Regions from separate parts of the Homo sapiens genome. Here region 2 is linked to region 1. Evidence: promoter capture Hi-C in 16 types of primary human blood cells and fetal thymus (Javierre and others, 2016). All regions are on one chromosome and are shown on one strand. The core of a region is centred on a gene start or on the middle of the fragment in contact, and the rest is flanking DNA. Distances in the headings are between cores, read along the strand shown.

What was found. Contacts are between HindIII fragments. The CHiCAGO score rates a contact against its expected background, and 5 or more counts as called.
Region 2: a contact is called between the fragment with the promoter of FHIT here and the fragment with the promoter of SELENOK in region 1, in 2 of 17 cell types (non-activated CD4 T cells and total B cells). The highest score is 6.4, in non-activated CD4 T cells.

The regions. Positions count from the first base shown.
Region 1 is chr3:53,887,905-53,895,394 of GRCh38, forward strand. It overlaps SELENOK (selenoprotein K), which reads right to left and starts at 3,955. Exons shown (of 5, transcript NM_021237.5): 1 at 3,866-3,955; 2 at 489-579. The coding sequence starts at 3,884. RefSeq lists enhancers at 3,143-4,043, 3,934-4,233. The HindIII fragment of the contact is 7,183 bases long and covers 3,255-7,490 here.
Region 2 is chr3:61,247,913-61,255,402 of GRCh38, forward strand. FHIT (fragile histidine triad diadenosine triphosphatase) reads right to left here and starts at 3,540. Exons shown (of 10, transcript NM_002012.4): 1 at 3,389-3,540. LOC124909387 (a long non-coding RNA gene) reads left to right here and starts at 3,680. Exons shown (of 2, transcript XR_007095939.1): 1 at 3,680-3,715. RefSeq lists enhancers at 2,129-2,408, 2,689-2,818, 2,959-3,088, 3,219-3,278, 3,343-3,637. The HindIII fragment of the contact is 4,935 bases long and covers 1-4,859 here.

The sequences.
Region 1 (7,490 bases), core at 2,705-5,204:
GCTTACAATTATGAAGACATTTAAATTTTTGTCTCCTTTACCAATTCTAACCCTTCATTATAAAAAAGTTTACTTCTTTGGAATTTTTTTTAAACCAGGATATAAAACCTTTTATTTACTTGTTATATAATATGGAATGAAAGTTGCATGCACAAAGAAAAAAACAAAACAAGAATAGTAGAGAGAAAGTGAGGTCCAGTCATTTAGCATCAGAATTGACGGACCCAGCCATAGGTTGAAGTAGTTACCACCAAGGTTAAGATGTGGTCAAGTTTACCAATCCAACTAACATATACTCATAATCATAAGCTATCTGGTGGTAGCAACTTTATCACTAACATCTATTTCCCTGTGTAAAGCTATTTTTTAAATTGCAATAGAAAACTGTTTCAGGAAAGTTGAGCTTATTTAAGATCCCTAACATAATGCACATGATGTATACCTGTCAACTTAAATATCAGGGCAATTAAGAGCTCTTCTATACTTACAACAAAACCACAAACTCAGCTATTCCCCAGAAGAAATCTGTTATCAAAGATAATCTCCATGGAGACTGACTCCGGCTGTCCAACACTTGTCCTACAGATAAGAATTAAAGAAACTTTAGTGAGTGCTACAAATCCCTAACCCAAGAGGCATCACATTTAATTATTGAGGTAACAATGATTGGGGTTTTAACTTGCCCATTATTCCAAATGGCCAACACCAGAAGAAATCTGTGAGCATCATTCCAAGGAAAGGTTCGGAGAAGTAATGTTCCATTATCTAGGGACATTCCTCCAGTATGTCAAAAGCCTACTGGTTTATAAACTTGGTGGGTGACTTCATTCTATTCAACTACTTTCTCTCTTTCTATAAATATATAACAAAGGCTGGGCGCGGTGGCTCATGCCTGTAATCCCAGCACTTTGGGAGGCCGAGGCAGGCGGATCATGAGGTCAGGAGATTGAGACCATCCTGGCTAACACGGTGAAACCCCGTCTCTACTAAAAACTACAAAAAATTAGCTAGGCATGGTGGCACACACCTGTAGTCCCAGCTACTCAGGAGGCTGAGGCAGGAGAATTGCTTGAACCCAGGAAGCAGAGGTTGCAGTGAGCCCAGATGGCGCCACTGCACTCCAGCCTGGGCGACAGAGCAAGAAAAAAAAAACAAAAAACAACAAAAAAACACATATATATAAAACAAAAATTTATCATGGTTTAAAAATGTAACAATGGTTACCAATGGTTAACCATTTTAAAGAGTACAGTTCTGTGATATTAAGTACATTCTACATTGATGCACAACCATCACCACCATCCACCTCTAGAAGTTTTTCATCTTCTCCAGCTGAAACTCTATACCCATTAAACCCTGATTCCCATTACCTTCTCCGCCCAGCCCCTGGCAACCACCATTCTACTTTCTGTCCCGACAAATTTGACTACTCTAGGAACCTCATAAAAGAAGAATAATACAATTTCTATCCTTTAGTGACCAGCTTTTCACTTGGCATGTCTTCAAAGTTCATCCATGTTGCAGTATGTGTCAAAATCTCCTTCCTGAAGGTTGAATAATATATCCTTGTATGTATATACTACATTTTGTTTACCCACTCATATCTGTTGATGGACACTTGAGTTGCTTCCACCTTCTGACTACTGTGAATAATGCTGCTATCAACATGGGTGTAAAAATACCTCTTTATTCAAGTACTTTGAAGAAACAAATGGGACGGGTGAATATAAAGGAATGCTCACACCACTTCCATATTCCTAAACATGCTGAGTATTTCTTTTCATTTGCAAAGTCTCTTGCCTGTATAAAAAGATTGCGTATTCATACTCTTACAAGTCTTTGGAATCAGTTATTTTTATAAAATTCTTATAAAGAGTGTGTATGCTCTAAGTACTAAAGAGAATTTGGCTTGTTCTTCATTAAAATAACTACTGTTTTCTATAACAGCATACTCTTAATTCTAATAGACTCTAGCTTTATCTTAAGCAAAACTGGATCTATTTTTCAAACCACTTTAATAGAAGCTACAACATAAGTTGGTACACTATATTTCAGCCTTGCAAATCAAGATGTCAGAATATTTTCGGGGAAGAGTAACTGTCAACTACCTCTCCTTTCCATTATCCCAAGAGTTAACCCCACTCACCTCTACCCACTCCATGAGGGTTTACTTTTCCTCTTTTCTTGACCAGCTTAATTTCAGATACCCACTTGGATCTAAGCTCTCACTGTGCTACTGAGAGCAAGGGGCTACAAAAGTTTAGAGGGTGGGTGACAGGCTTAGTTCTCTGCCTCTTACTAGCTCTGCTTCGTTGGCTGATGTGACATTTTCTTTCTCCAACAAAAAGTATTCCAGGGCTAGCCATCACATAAGATTTTTGGAAAAAAAAAAGTCATCTGACAGCAAGAGAAAGATTTTGTCAAGTGCTGATAATACAGTCCTAAGAAGGTGGATCTAATTGGAACCTGTCATTTCTTCCTCTGTGATTCTATCTTGCTTTTCCACTTTCCCTTTCTTAAGGCAGAATGTCCCTTCCACCAATATCCCCAGAGAGAAGTAAGGTGTTTGAATGCAGTTGTGTTTCTCAACTTTTAAAGTACGATAAAGAGTCCTAATCGGCTACTTATGTGGACCAAATGAAATAATGCGAACACAGTAAGACACAACAAATACAAGGAATTATTCAATAATTCATACAGAAGCTTCCAGCCTTAAGCTTATATCACAAAGGCTATAAAACAGGCTATAAAACAGACTAAAGTCTGAAAGCGCCCAAAACTAAGATGAAATTTTGATGCTTTTCTGTAGTGTCCATCAATCTACTTGTTTCAAAGATTTTTAAGTGGGAGATGAGAAGGGGAGATTTTTAAAAGTCAAGAAATGCAAAAGTGCAGTCAGCCAGAAGGCTCCTCACTGACTACCTTACTCGTCTCTGGAGAAAAACAGATGACTCAAATAGAACCAAGACCTAGTTCCAATGATCCACAACTCCTTGTTAAGACTGTACCAAAGAATTTCACCTGAGTCAAACAGGTGGGCAGGCAGCTCTAGCACTGATCTGACACAGTCATGTCCTTCCTTTCCGGTCATCTTCTTTGTGGGTTCGCAGAATTAAGTCTCTCGGATTCTCCATTCCGGTAATAATTAACTTGCTCCTAGGGGAAGATAGTACTTCTTCCCATGCCCCTTGAAATTCGAGCAAAAAATTCCATGTTTGACTAGCTACCCTTTCCTGGGGAAAAAGCCTATGCAAAGCTTTCATCTAATTATCATCCTAGGTCGGCTCGGTCTTTTTACACGTTGTAGACAGAGGCAGCATAACAGATAACAAGGACGCTGACGTCAGCCTACCTGTGATCGAATCCCGACTCAGCCATTAAGTTACCTCTGTGACTTAAATAGCCCAGGCAAGCTATTTAATCTATCTGAGCCTCAGAGTTTCCACCCGTAAAACAGGATTGAATGTGACGATAAGCAAATAACTGAAACACTGTCCAGGGCACAAGCGCTACGTGTACAGCGTCGGCATCATTGTCCTTACTAGTTTTAAGGATACCGACACCCGAGAGAGGAAAGACCACCCTCGCAAATCCACAATCAAGCGCTTGCTGCACGAAGGCGGGGTTGCAGGGCTCCCAGTACTCAACGTGAGGCCGGCGGGACCTCGGCCCCCGACTGCCGGCTCAGAGACCATCGGCTGACGCGCCGCAAGCCGAGGCGACTTCGGTCCAGCTCCGCCCGGCCGCGGGGCGCTAAGCCCGGGGAAGCCGCACCGGGCTCAAGACTCAGCGAGCGACGATGAAAGGAACCTGGAGTCCGATCTTACAAGTCACCGGTCGAAGCCACAGCCCGCTCTCAACTTACCGTTCGAGATGTAAACCATCTTGTCCCACTTCCCCGCTTCGGAGCCACCGGGCGCCTGGCCCCTGTCGGTTTCTGTATCTCCCTCTGCTCCCCGCCCTTCGAGCGTCACAGGCCGCGATTAGACAAAATGCTGACGAGGACGAAGGTGGGCAGAGCCCATTGGCTGCTGAAAGAGACGCGCCCCCGACGGGCGTTTTTGCATCGTCACATCTGCGACTTCTGGTTAGGCGGAGGCGGCCGAGCTGACAACCGGATATGACGTTAAGGACTGCCCTGTAGTGCCCGCGGTTGCCAGTCCTCTATCCGACTTGATCGTGCAGAGTTGGTTCGCACCGCCCAGTGAGGGGAAGCTGTTTTCTCGTCGATTGATAGGCTCCGGGTCTGGGTAGGAGAGGCTGCCCTGTATGAGGTAGCTTGAAGGGCCGCTGACAGGAGGAAACGCTTCCGAATTTTCCAGACGTGTTGACGTTTGAGGGTGCTGACTACACGTTAAGGAACTTTATTGTCACGCCTTTGGGAATATACTGCCAGGCTCTTCCTAGATATATTCATTCTCTTTAAAATGAGCATGTCTACCTGGGTTCACCAGAAACTAAGTTTTTCTTAGCCTTTTGTGAGGCAACTGAAAAATAAATTGAACTGTAGGCCCTTTCTCTGCTTGTTTCTTATTGATGGCGACTGCTTATGACCACTTTGGTGACAGACGAATTAGAAGACATGTCTTGGACATTCAGTAAATGTGGACCACATACCATGGATATTTACTCTGCTACAGCCAGTGGGCTGCCTCTGTTCCTTGAACGTGGCCATTTCATTCCCTTCTCAAGGCCTCTGCACTTAGCTATTCTTTCAGCGTGGAGACCTAATGGCTGCTTCCTTTGACTTCCCGCCCCCAGTTCTCAAGCCATGTGTCATCTCTTTGGAAAGATTCCTAATCACCTTCCAGAAAATGAAAATTACATGCTGAAAATCTATTTTGAGTTTAACAACTTTGGTTAAGATTTTATGTTCTAATACTTAGAACTGACAAAGATCTAATTTTATGTTGATTTTGGAGAGAGCATTTTCCCCAGAAAAGTTCATAATAGGACAAGACAACATCCTTCACCTCATTTGGGATTTGTGCAGCACAATCATAAAGGATCATTTCTGCAAAAATATTAGGGCAGGGCCGTTAATTTTCCCAAGGGCCTTTCTTAATCTAGACCATGCCACCATCATCTCTCACCTGCTCTACGCTAGTTTCCTTCTAAATGAAATCTCAGGTTCAGTCTTTTACCATCCTTAGGCAGTTTTACAAACTGTAGCAAGATCGATCTTAAAACGGAGATCATCTCGTTCCCTTGCCTAAAACCTTTTGGACACTAAAATTTAGTGACTTCCTATTGCTCTTAAAATCCAGTTCCTTGTCATGGCCTGCAGGCCCAAGGTGACTTGTCCTCTTGATTGCTCCTCTCACTGTACTTCCAGCCACATCTCCCCACCCAGATTATGCTCTGGCAACATTGTTGTTTTAGTTTATGAACACCCCCACCCAGATTATGCTCTGGCAACATTGTTGTTTTAGTTTGTGAACACCCCGGGTTTTACTGATACCTCCAGGACTCTGCCCATACTTGTCCCTCTACCTGGAACCCTCTTCCTCGGACTCCTTGCACATCCAGCTCATTTTATCCTTTAGCCCTCTGCTTAGTTGTCACCACTTCTGGGTGCCCTTCCCTGGCCACTCATCTCCGTGTTTATTTTCTTCATAGTAATTCACATTGTGAAACTGTCTGATAATTGATTTGTCTCTTGTCTTCAAGAAAATATAAGACGTAAGAGGTCAGGAATCCTGTCTGCCTTATTGTCTTTTATATCTTCAAGGTCTGTCATAGTTCTTGGCAAGTAGTAGGTGCTCAGATATTTGTTGGTTGGTTGAATGAGATTTTTTTAGACAATTTTTTGACAATTGCTTAAAATCTCTCCAATTGCCAAAAGAGGAAAGAAACTAACATTGGGATCTCCTGAGTATCGGACATTGTGAGGCTATCTCTTCCTTTCCATTCCTTTATCTAGATCATTTTTGCCTGAGATTTAATGCAGTGATTTCCTAATGAGCTACCTCTAGTTTCTCCGTACTCCATTTCATGCTATCTTCACCTGTTAGTTTAATCCAATCTTGCCTCTCCCATTCACAGACCTTCCGTTTCTTCCCACCACCTGACAAACATAATTCAGCCTCCCTGGTCTGGCATTAAGGGCTTTCCTGATACATCTTAGATTTTGCTCTCTGATTTCTACTTCCCTAGTAGACCCTTTGTTTTCCTGCCTTGTTGCCTCTGCTCATGTGTTTCCTCTTGAAAGGAACTTTCTCCACCTGCTAAAATCTAATCAATCCTTCAAGGCAAGGCATGTTCCTCTCGAATAACAAAGGTGAAAGGACTTTGAAAATTGAAAAAAATTATATAGTTAGTTACAATTATAGTTAGTTACAATTATATAGTTAGTGGTAGAGGACAAAGATAGCATTTCCCCTCTTTCCCTAACCTTTAATGTCTGAAACTAAGCATTAGCCACTAGCCACATGTAGCTGTTGAATATTTGAAATGTGGCTAGTCTGAATTGAAATGTACTGTACAAAATACCAGATCACAAAGATTTAGAATGAAATGAAGACTGTAAAATATCTTGTTTTTAATATTGATATGTTGAAATGATATTTTGGAGATTAAAGAACATATGTTACTAAAAGTAATTTTATTTGTTAATTTCATTTATTTTTATGTGACTACTAGAAAATTTAAAATTACATACTTGGCTCACATACATGGTTTACATTACATTTCTGTTGGATACTGCTTGTCTAGAATGAAGACATTGGCCTGGCAAAGAAGAGGTATTCAATAAATACTTGTTGAGTGAATGAAAGAATTGGTAGTTTTAATAATGGATAATATGTATACAGGGTTACTATGTGTCAGGCACTGTTCTAAACACTTTCCATTTATTCATTTAATCCTCATAACAACGACGATAATAATAGCTAACATTTGTATAGTGCTTACCCTGTGCCAGGGAACGTTCTGATTGCTTTTCATGTATTCATTCATTTAAACTTCAACCCTACTGAGTTCTGTTATTCCCATTTTACAGATGAGGAAACTGAGAGAGAGCTCAAGTGTCTTGCCCAAGATCACACAGTTAATAAGAAGCAGAATTGAGGTTAAGATCAAGAGCCAGGCTCTATAGTTTGTGCTCTTAACCCCTGTGCTATGCTGCATCTCCACACATAACAGAAGTATTGAAATAGTGTACAATCCACCACGGTATTTGTAGTATAGAATGAGAGGTGATTTCTGGAGACTGTTTGACTGTATCTCAGCTTTCTCAAAGTTGCAAAATAGCTGCCCAGTTTTTCTTTTCTAGATTCCCCAGCAAAATTCCCTGAGCATCTCTAAGTGGATGACCTTCATATCTCTGCACTAAACCCTTGGCCAGTGGGATGGGCCATTCTGAATGACAGCTACCTCTGGAGCTGGAGCTTGACTCAATCCCACTTAAGCTAGAGGGCTTGAGAGTTGGAGAGGGGTGGTGGTTACCACGAGATAATGAAGGAACACTGGGTTACATAGAAACAATAAGA
Region 2 (7,490 bases), core at 2,290-4,789, 7.4 Mb after region 1:
CAAGGGCTAAGTAACCTGTCTAAAAGGCACAGCTGGGAATTAAATCATGGGTCCCCAGACAACCCCTCTACTGCTTCTCTGCTATGTCTTACTATATAGATCACTTTCTCATCTGAGAAGTCACAGATATGGACATTCCCAAAGAGACAACCCCTTGGAGAATGATCTCAAAGGCTGAGATTTTTCTCTGCAATGTACATGTTGAAAGCAAAGTAACCTCCTACATCTTATATTTCAAAGCTGCACTTCTGCATTAAAAGAGTAAACAGATTCAATGAAGAGATGTGGGAACAGGGTGCTTATGAATGCAATGCCACAAGTACTTTTTCAGTGTCTACTGGTGGTCAGGCACTGTGGTGGAAGCTGAATGATCAGACTATCAGTTGGGAGAGCGTGGGGGTGGGGGCATGGGGGTGATGAGGAGAACTTCTCAAATAGACTGTTTCAGGAATGTTTAGCCAATAATTCATAAAACTGTTACTTTATTACCTAACTATATGGAAATCATCTTTCAGAAGAGACCAGAGTTACCTGCCTTATTATCTGTGAATACATAATTGAAAGGGCCAATATGTCTTCCAAAATGAAAGTCACAACTTGATAGATTTCTGAGAGTTCATATTAGAGGGTCAGATTTTAACATGTGAATGCAAACATAGTGTCAGAATTTGTTCTCAAGTGTCTGAAAGAACAAAAGAGAAAAGAGTAATGGGAGCCAAAACCAGACTAACTTCCAAAATAGAAACAGAGCATGTTGAAGTTGCATAAACACACAAATAAAGATGGGGACACAAAAACATTTCCTAAAGCATTCTATCAAAGGCTGCAGGAAAAAGGCCAAGACAAGGATACCAAATAGAAAAGCATAAGCCTAAAAAGGTTATCCACACTACTGTGAGGACTCCAGAAACCTGCCTTCTTGCAGAAACGGGATACTTTTGACATGAGGGCATGAGATGAAGATTGCAGACTACTTCGTAACACACTCTCCTCATTTATAAAATAAGAGTTAGATTAGATTATTTATAAGGTCCTTCCAGTCTGAATGCATTAAGTCCTTATCATCTATGTGGTCCTTGCACCTTAAGAGAGATGACCATATAAAGAAGCTCAAAAAACATTTGTTGAATTCATGAAGTATTACAACCTTACCAATAATAAATAAGATAATTTATAACAATTGGTCCTGGTCTGTGGCCTTGAAAGAGCAAATTAGAGGAGAAACCATTATCTAAAGAGCTACACATCTGGTGTTCCTGCTAGCTGACTGCTGGTGGAATGAAAATAACCCTGGACTTGAAAATAAGATGCTTGGTTCTAGTCTAATCTCTGACACAAACCAACTGTGTGACCTTGGGCAAACTGCTTTACCACCTGGGCCAGTTTCCTAATCTCTAAAATAAAGGTATTCTAAAACTATATACATATATATATGGAATCTTTATTATAGGCCAAGAAGTGTTCCAAGATCTTTGCATTAGAATTAAATGATCTCAAAGGTTTTTGCAGCTCAAATGTTTAGTATCTAAGTACAGAGGCAGCATGGTATAATTAAAAGATTCCAAATTCTGTAGCCAGAAAGGTTGGACTCCTCCTCAGCTCTGTAAGGTAAGGTCTTTCTCTAAGCAGAGACTGTTAAGCAGAAGGGCTTACAGTCTCAGTCCTTTTATTCACCAGTGTTTTAACTTGAACAAGTTACTTAACTTTCCTAGCCTTAGTTTTCTAATCTGTAAAGTTGATATAAAAATGGTTCTCACTCTCATATAGCTTTTAAGAGGATTAAATTATAACACATATATTTTATTGAATATATATTATATTGCTAGCTGTGTAATCATGGGCTATCTTCTCAAGTTTTTTCTCATATACAAATGGGAAATGTAGTATTAAAAAGAGATCATGTGAACAGGTTCTAAATGGTCAAGTGTTAGTGGTTTTGGAAGCATGTACGTTAATACTTGGAACACCGTATACAACAATCCCATATCTAACACTTAGAACAGCATATGCAATCAATAACAACACACACACACACACACACACACACACACACACACACACACACACACACACACACAAACCCTAGACTTCTTTCTTTACTAAATATTTCTAGTCCAGGTTGCAGCAGGTGGACACAGGCCGGCAGCCATGAACGCAGGTCCACATGGGAGTTGTAGTTCCGAGTCAAGCGGCTGCTCTACAGAACGGCTAGAAGCGAGACTTCGTCTCCCAGGAGACATCTCGCCGTGCAAAATGGCACGCCACGAGGTGGAGTACCTGCCCGACGAGAAACAAGAGGCGGGACTGCAACTCCCAGAAGCCTCCGCGGCCAAGGCCTCAGGCCGCAGGCTGAAGCCAAGGAGGGAGAGTTCAGGTAGATCCGGCTTAACATCAGGTGCGAGTAGGGACCACCCTTGGTAGTCTGGGCCCGGCCCAGGTCAGAACCTTACTAAAACAACCACTGTGAGTATTTTCTATTGGTCCCAGCACATTTCTGAGAGACCAGAATAATAATAGCAGTAAATCTGCAAGTGGTAAACTTTCACAAGCATAACCTCAATTTAGATTTCGGCTTCAGGCAACATCCTTTGGCCACTTGACCTGGGAGCATTGAGCTCCTTGTTTCCCAGATAAGCGCTGTGAGTGGCTGTTCCAAGGTAACACAGCGAGGGCAGAATGTGAGCCTACAGAGAAATCTGCAGATGCATCTCAAGTTCCACTAACCTGCCTCCTTACCCCCCACCACCACCAACTTGGATATACCTTTAAAATTCCCCCCTTTGACGCTAAAAATAAAAACAACAACCATAAAATAAGTGTAAGAAAGTCCGACCAAGTACCGATGAGTTCTCCCACAACAATAAATTCGATGCCTCTTTGCCTGTTTTTGAAGTAGTAATGTAAAATTATCTCCCAAAATGCTGCCTTCTCTATACTCCGGTTTGCTCCTGTCCTGGGCACGTGTTCAGCAACCCCTTAGGGGAATCCAGAGCTGCGTGTTTAACACAGACCTGTTGGGACGGATTTTCGCTACTTGTCTATGAAACTGACGAACCATCCCAAAACGGCGGGTGCCGACTACACCCCCAGAGCCAAGAGCTGTGGCGTCCCCGGACCCGCTGGCGTGGCCCCGTGCCTCAGTTTCCCCAATGTATAAACACGGTGGAGGAGGAACGGGTTAGGGCTAGGGTCGGTGCTTGGGAATTGGGGGGCCCGAGTCCCCACCCTGAGACCCTCGTGGGGCGGAAGAGTACTCGGGACAGAAGCCCACCGCCCCGTGAGCGGCGCCGGCCCCACTGGGCTCCGGGGTGATGACCTGACGCGCGTGGAAACCCAGACCCGCGCCCCAGAAACAGTATTCCACTTGGGCTTGCCTCCCCGCCCCTACCTTCCAGGATGTTGACAGCTGGGAATGAAAGGCAGAGGGAGGGAGCGCGGGGCCGGAGCGCCGCCTGGGAGTGTGCCCACTGGGTGGCCGCCTGAGGGACCCGGGAACAGAGGGCAAAAAGTCCTGTGACCGGACAGAGCAGAGCGGGGACTGCAATTCCCAGAAGACCCCACGGTAGGGGCGGGACCCAAGATGGCCGCTTGTCTGGGGACAGGAGCGGAGGCCAATACGCGCAGAGCATGCGCCTACGCCGGGCCAATTGAAAGCCATAGTGACAGTAACCCTGATTCAGGGGCGGGAAACACTGACCACAGAAGACAAGTTGAGGTGAGAATCCCCTTACAAGGGGGTTTGGGGCATAAATCGCACAATCTTTGGCTTTTTCTAACTAGAAAAAGAAACATGATTCTTTTCACGTGTAACGAAAGGCTGTACCGCACTTTTGCTTTTTTCTTTCCTCCCAAAACGCGTTTAACTATCCCTTCACGACTTCCCACTGGCTGGATTTCTTTTCGTTTCATTTCCCCACTCTGGATCTTTCTGGATTCCTTAAGCCTTCTTTTCTTTATGTGTCTCTCAGAAACACAGACTTGCAGTCCCTGGCTTGATCCATCAAATAATGTGGTCATTTACGACTACGCTCAGCCCTCCCTGGCATCCTAACAAAATTGCACCACATGCGCCCCTTCTCTTTTCCTTTCTGTCTTTTCTGTGCTGTTTTTCTCCTTAGCATTTGTCGTTACGAAGCATTGTATAAAATTTACGTATTTATCTTTTTTACCATCTTACTTTCTCACTAGAATGCAAGATCCCTGCAGATGTGGATTTTTGTTTTGGTCACTGTAGTCTTTCTAGCACCTAGAAAAGTGCCCAGCACATAGTAAATACACCGTATTTTCAATAATTGAACGAAATCTAGAGTGACCTTTCTCCCCTAGTCTCCCTTTCTCTGGTGCAGATCAACCCGTTTCTGACCACCATGGTTCCTTGTGCTTGTTCCCCTGTTTAATCCAAAATCATTATTGATGTATTCTGTGCCAAATGCCATGTGGGTGCTGGAGAAATCATTGATTCAGACCCAATTCCTAACCTCAAAATGCTCTGTCTAGTGACGTATGAAAAGTAAAATTAATTTTACAATAAATGCAATTACAAATTGCAGAACACCTACGTAATTTTCACAAGGTCATGCAGCTCCTAAGCAAGGACTAGATTCCTGGCTGCAGACTCTTGCCATTACATCGGGAAAAACAAAGAGCAGTTTTCTCTCAGACAAACACTAAGATAGGTCCCCATTTTCCTTAGCACCATTTCCTTTCTCTGTCTCTCACTTTTTTATTTGGCCTGATTCATTACATGCAGGCAATTACATCAAGTCTTAGATCTCTCATTATTTCTAATATTTGAATCCCATGGAGAGTAGCAAGGTGTCCTACAAAGTGTCCTGGTGTGAAAATCTGATGTCCTTGGAAGCTTGACTCTCAGAGAATGTCACATTGGATTATAGTTCATCACACAGACACCATGGCCACATAAAATATTATCAAATTGTGAATAACAAAGTGAAATTGAAAAAAAAAATATAGTTAAAACAGCAGGAATGTGAGCAATATATGTACAGACTGATTTTGTGCATAGAGATTAAAACACCTGTTCAGGCTTCCTAGCCTAATCTTCTGTCAATTTGGGGTCATTTCCTGTAATACAATTCTTTGTTGCTTTTATGAGCACAGACTTAGCTCAGCAGTCCCAGCTATTCTCAAGCTGATCGACATGAGAGATTTCAACACATGTGTCAGCAGCCAGACTAAACGTGGAAGAAAATCAGAAGCATTTGAAACTGTAAAGCTCAATAACTTTCCTCCTCCTGAGAAAGCATCAGCCTATAATCATTACATCTTCTACTTAGCAGTCAAAAGGCAAATGTCATGAACATACTCAGGGTCTAAACAGTGGTGTCTAATGATTATTGCACTGTTGTCAGATAGCCTAATATGAGCACATAGGTATTACTTCAGCTGTGGATAATGCTGACTGCTGGGCTCAAGGTCACCCACGACCTTGAGCAACAGATACATTCACAAAGAGCATGAAGACATAGAACTTGCATTGGATTCAGGACCTTCAAGTGCCAAGACAATCAGTGGGAGGTTACTGTCTGATCTGCAACTTGACTGAATTAATAACCACCTTAGTATGGGTTCTCCCAGAAGCAGATCTGGAGACAGGTATTCAAGAGCAAGTATTTTATTTAGGAGGTTATCGCAGGAAACACCAGTAAGAGACTAAGAAAGTGAAATAGGGAAGAGAAGACCAAAAAGATGCCTTATCTAGCACATTACCGCTAGAGGCACCCAGAACTTAATCCTCCTAGAAATCTCTGGGAAACAATATGGAACATGTACCTTAGACTGAGTGATTCCACCAAGAGGACAAGATAACTGGGTTGTTTAAACACCAACTACCGTCAGTCAATGATTGGGGGCAGCTTTCAGGGATTATTAAGACCCTGGCTTGTCTGCAATGCTCCAAGAGTAGACAGAGTTGCCTCAGTGGCCACAGAAAGCCAGAGATAGAAGAATTAAGAGTCACATTGGTATACGCTGAAATAGTAAGGGAATATAGCATACTGGCGGGGCACCAATAATATCTGCTACAGGTGGCTTTGGTTTACCACAAGCTCATGTCACTGAAACTAACAGAATAAGAATAAGTCAGAAACTAAGTAGATAAATACAAAAAGCCCAAGCAGCCTACCACCTTCTATCACTCATCAACAATTAAGATAGATTGTACTTTCTAAATCCTCACTAAGACATACAAACCAAACAATAGCAGAAGCCTCATTTACACTGGGGAATAGGAACTCTTTGGGCATTTAAGGAGGGTGCTTTGGGAGCTTTGGGGCATGGTAGTGCAAGGAGAAAGAAGATTAAGAAAAGGGGAAAAGGACATTTAAAGAAACGTGTTAAAAACATTGTGTTTTTCATTTTATGGTCTTGAAACATGAGTAAAGGGTGTGGATATTTTAAGAAGGTAGCATCAAGATCTGGGTGACTTTTAGACCCAGAAGACAATTTTGTGAAAGACTTCTGTGGATTGTGCCATTATAGTACTTCTTCATAGCAAATATCTTTACTTGAAATTATACCCACATTTATTTGTCCTTTTGTTTATCATCTGTCTCCTTCAAACAAAAGGTAAACTCCATGAAGGTAAGAACTTTGTTTTCAGGCCAGGCACGGTGGCTCATGCCTGTAATCCCAGCACTTTGGGAGGCCGAGGTGGGCAGATCACGAGGTCAGGAGTTTGAAACCAGCCTGGCCAACATGGTGAAAACCCATCTCTACCAAAAATACAAAAATTAGCCAGGCATGGTGGCTCACACCTGTAGTCCCAGCTACTTGGGAGGCTGAGGCAAGGAATCACTTGAGCCTGGGAGGCAGAGGCTGCAGTGAGCCAAGATTGTGCCACTGCACTCCAGCCCAAGTGACAGAGCGAGACTCCATCTCAAAAAAAAAAAAAAAACAAACTTTATTTTTGTGTTATTCATTAGTCAGCACTCAATAAATATGTGGTTAACAAATGACTATATTATGGCTACAAAAAGTAAACAGGGTAAGTACTAGAAGAGCCTGACATTTGTACCATTTGTATCATTCAACTAAATCATAAAGGTAAGAGGCACTGGTAACTACACCATAACCCCCCATTATCACGAAGCTTGGGGCCATCCTTGTGTGTAGAAAAACTGGAGGTCACATAATGTTCTCTGGCTTTAGTCAAACACTTCCAACAGCATCCTCTTCAAGCACACATGGCCTACAAGGAAATCTTTACCATGGAAACAGAATTTCAAAACTAAAAAGTCCGTAGAGGTCAAAGAGTTCAACCCTCTGCATAATTCATCTTAGCCATATGTTACAGGTCATAATTCAGACCTTCAGACAAGAATCTTTATTTATTTGTAATTTATTACAAATTTATTTGAAAAAATAATATCTAATACAAAAATATTATATTAGAAAAAAGGAGAAACAATGCATTATTTTTGTAATACAAAGTATAGAAAGTTTGGGAAACTCAGTCGTACCCAAATGCT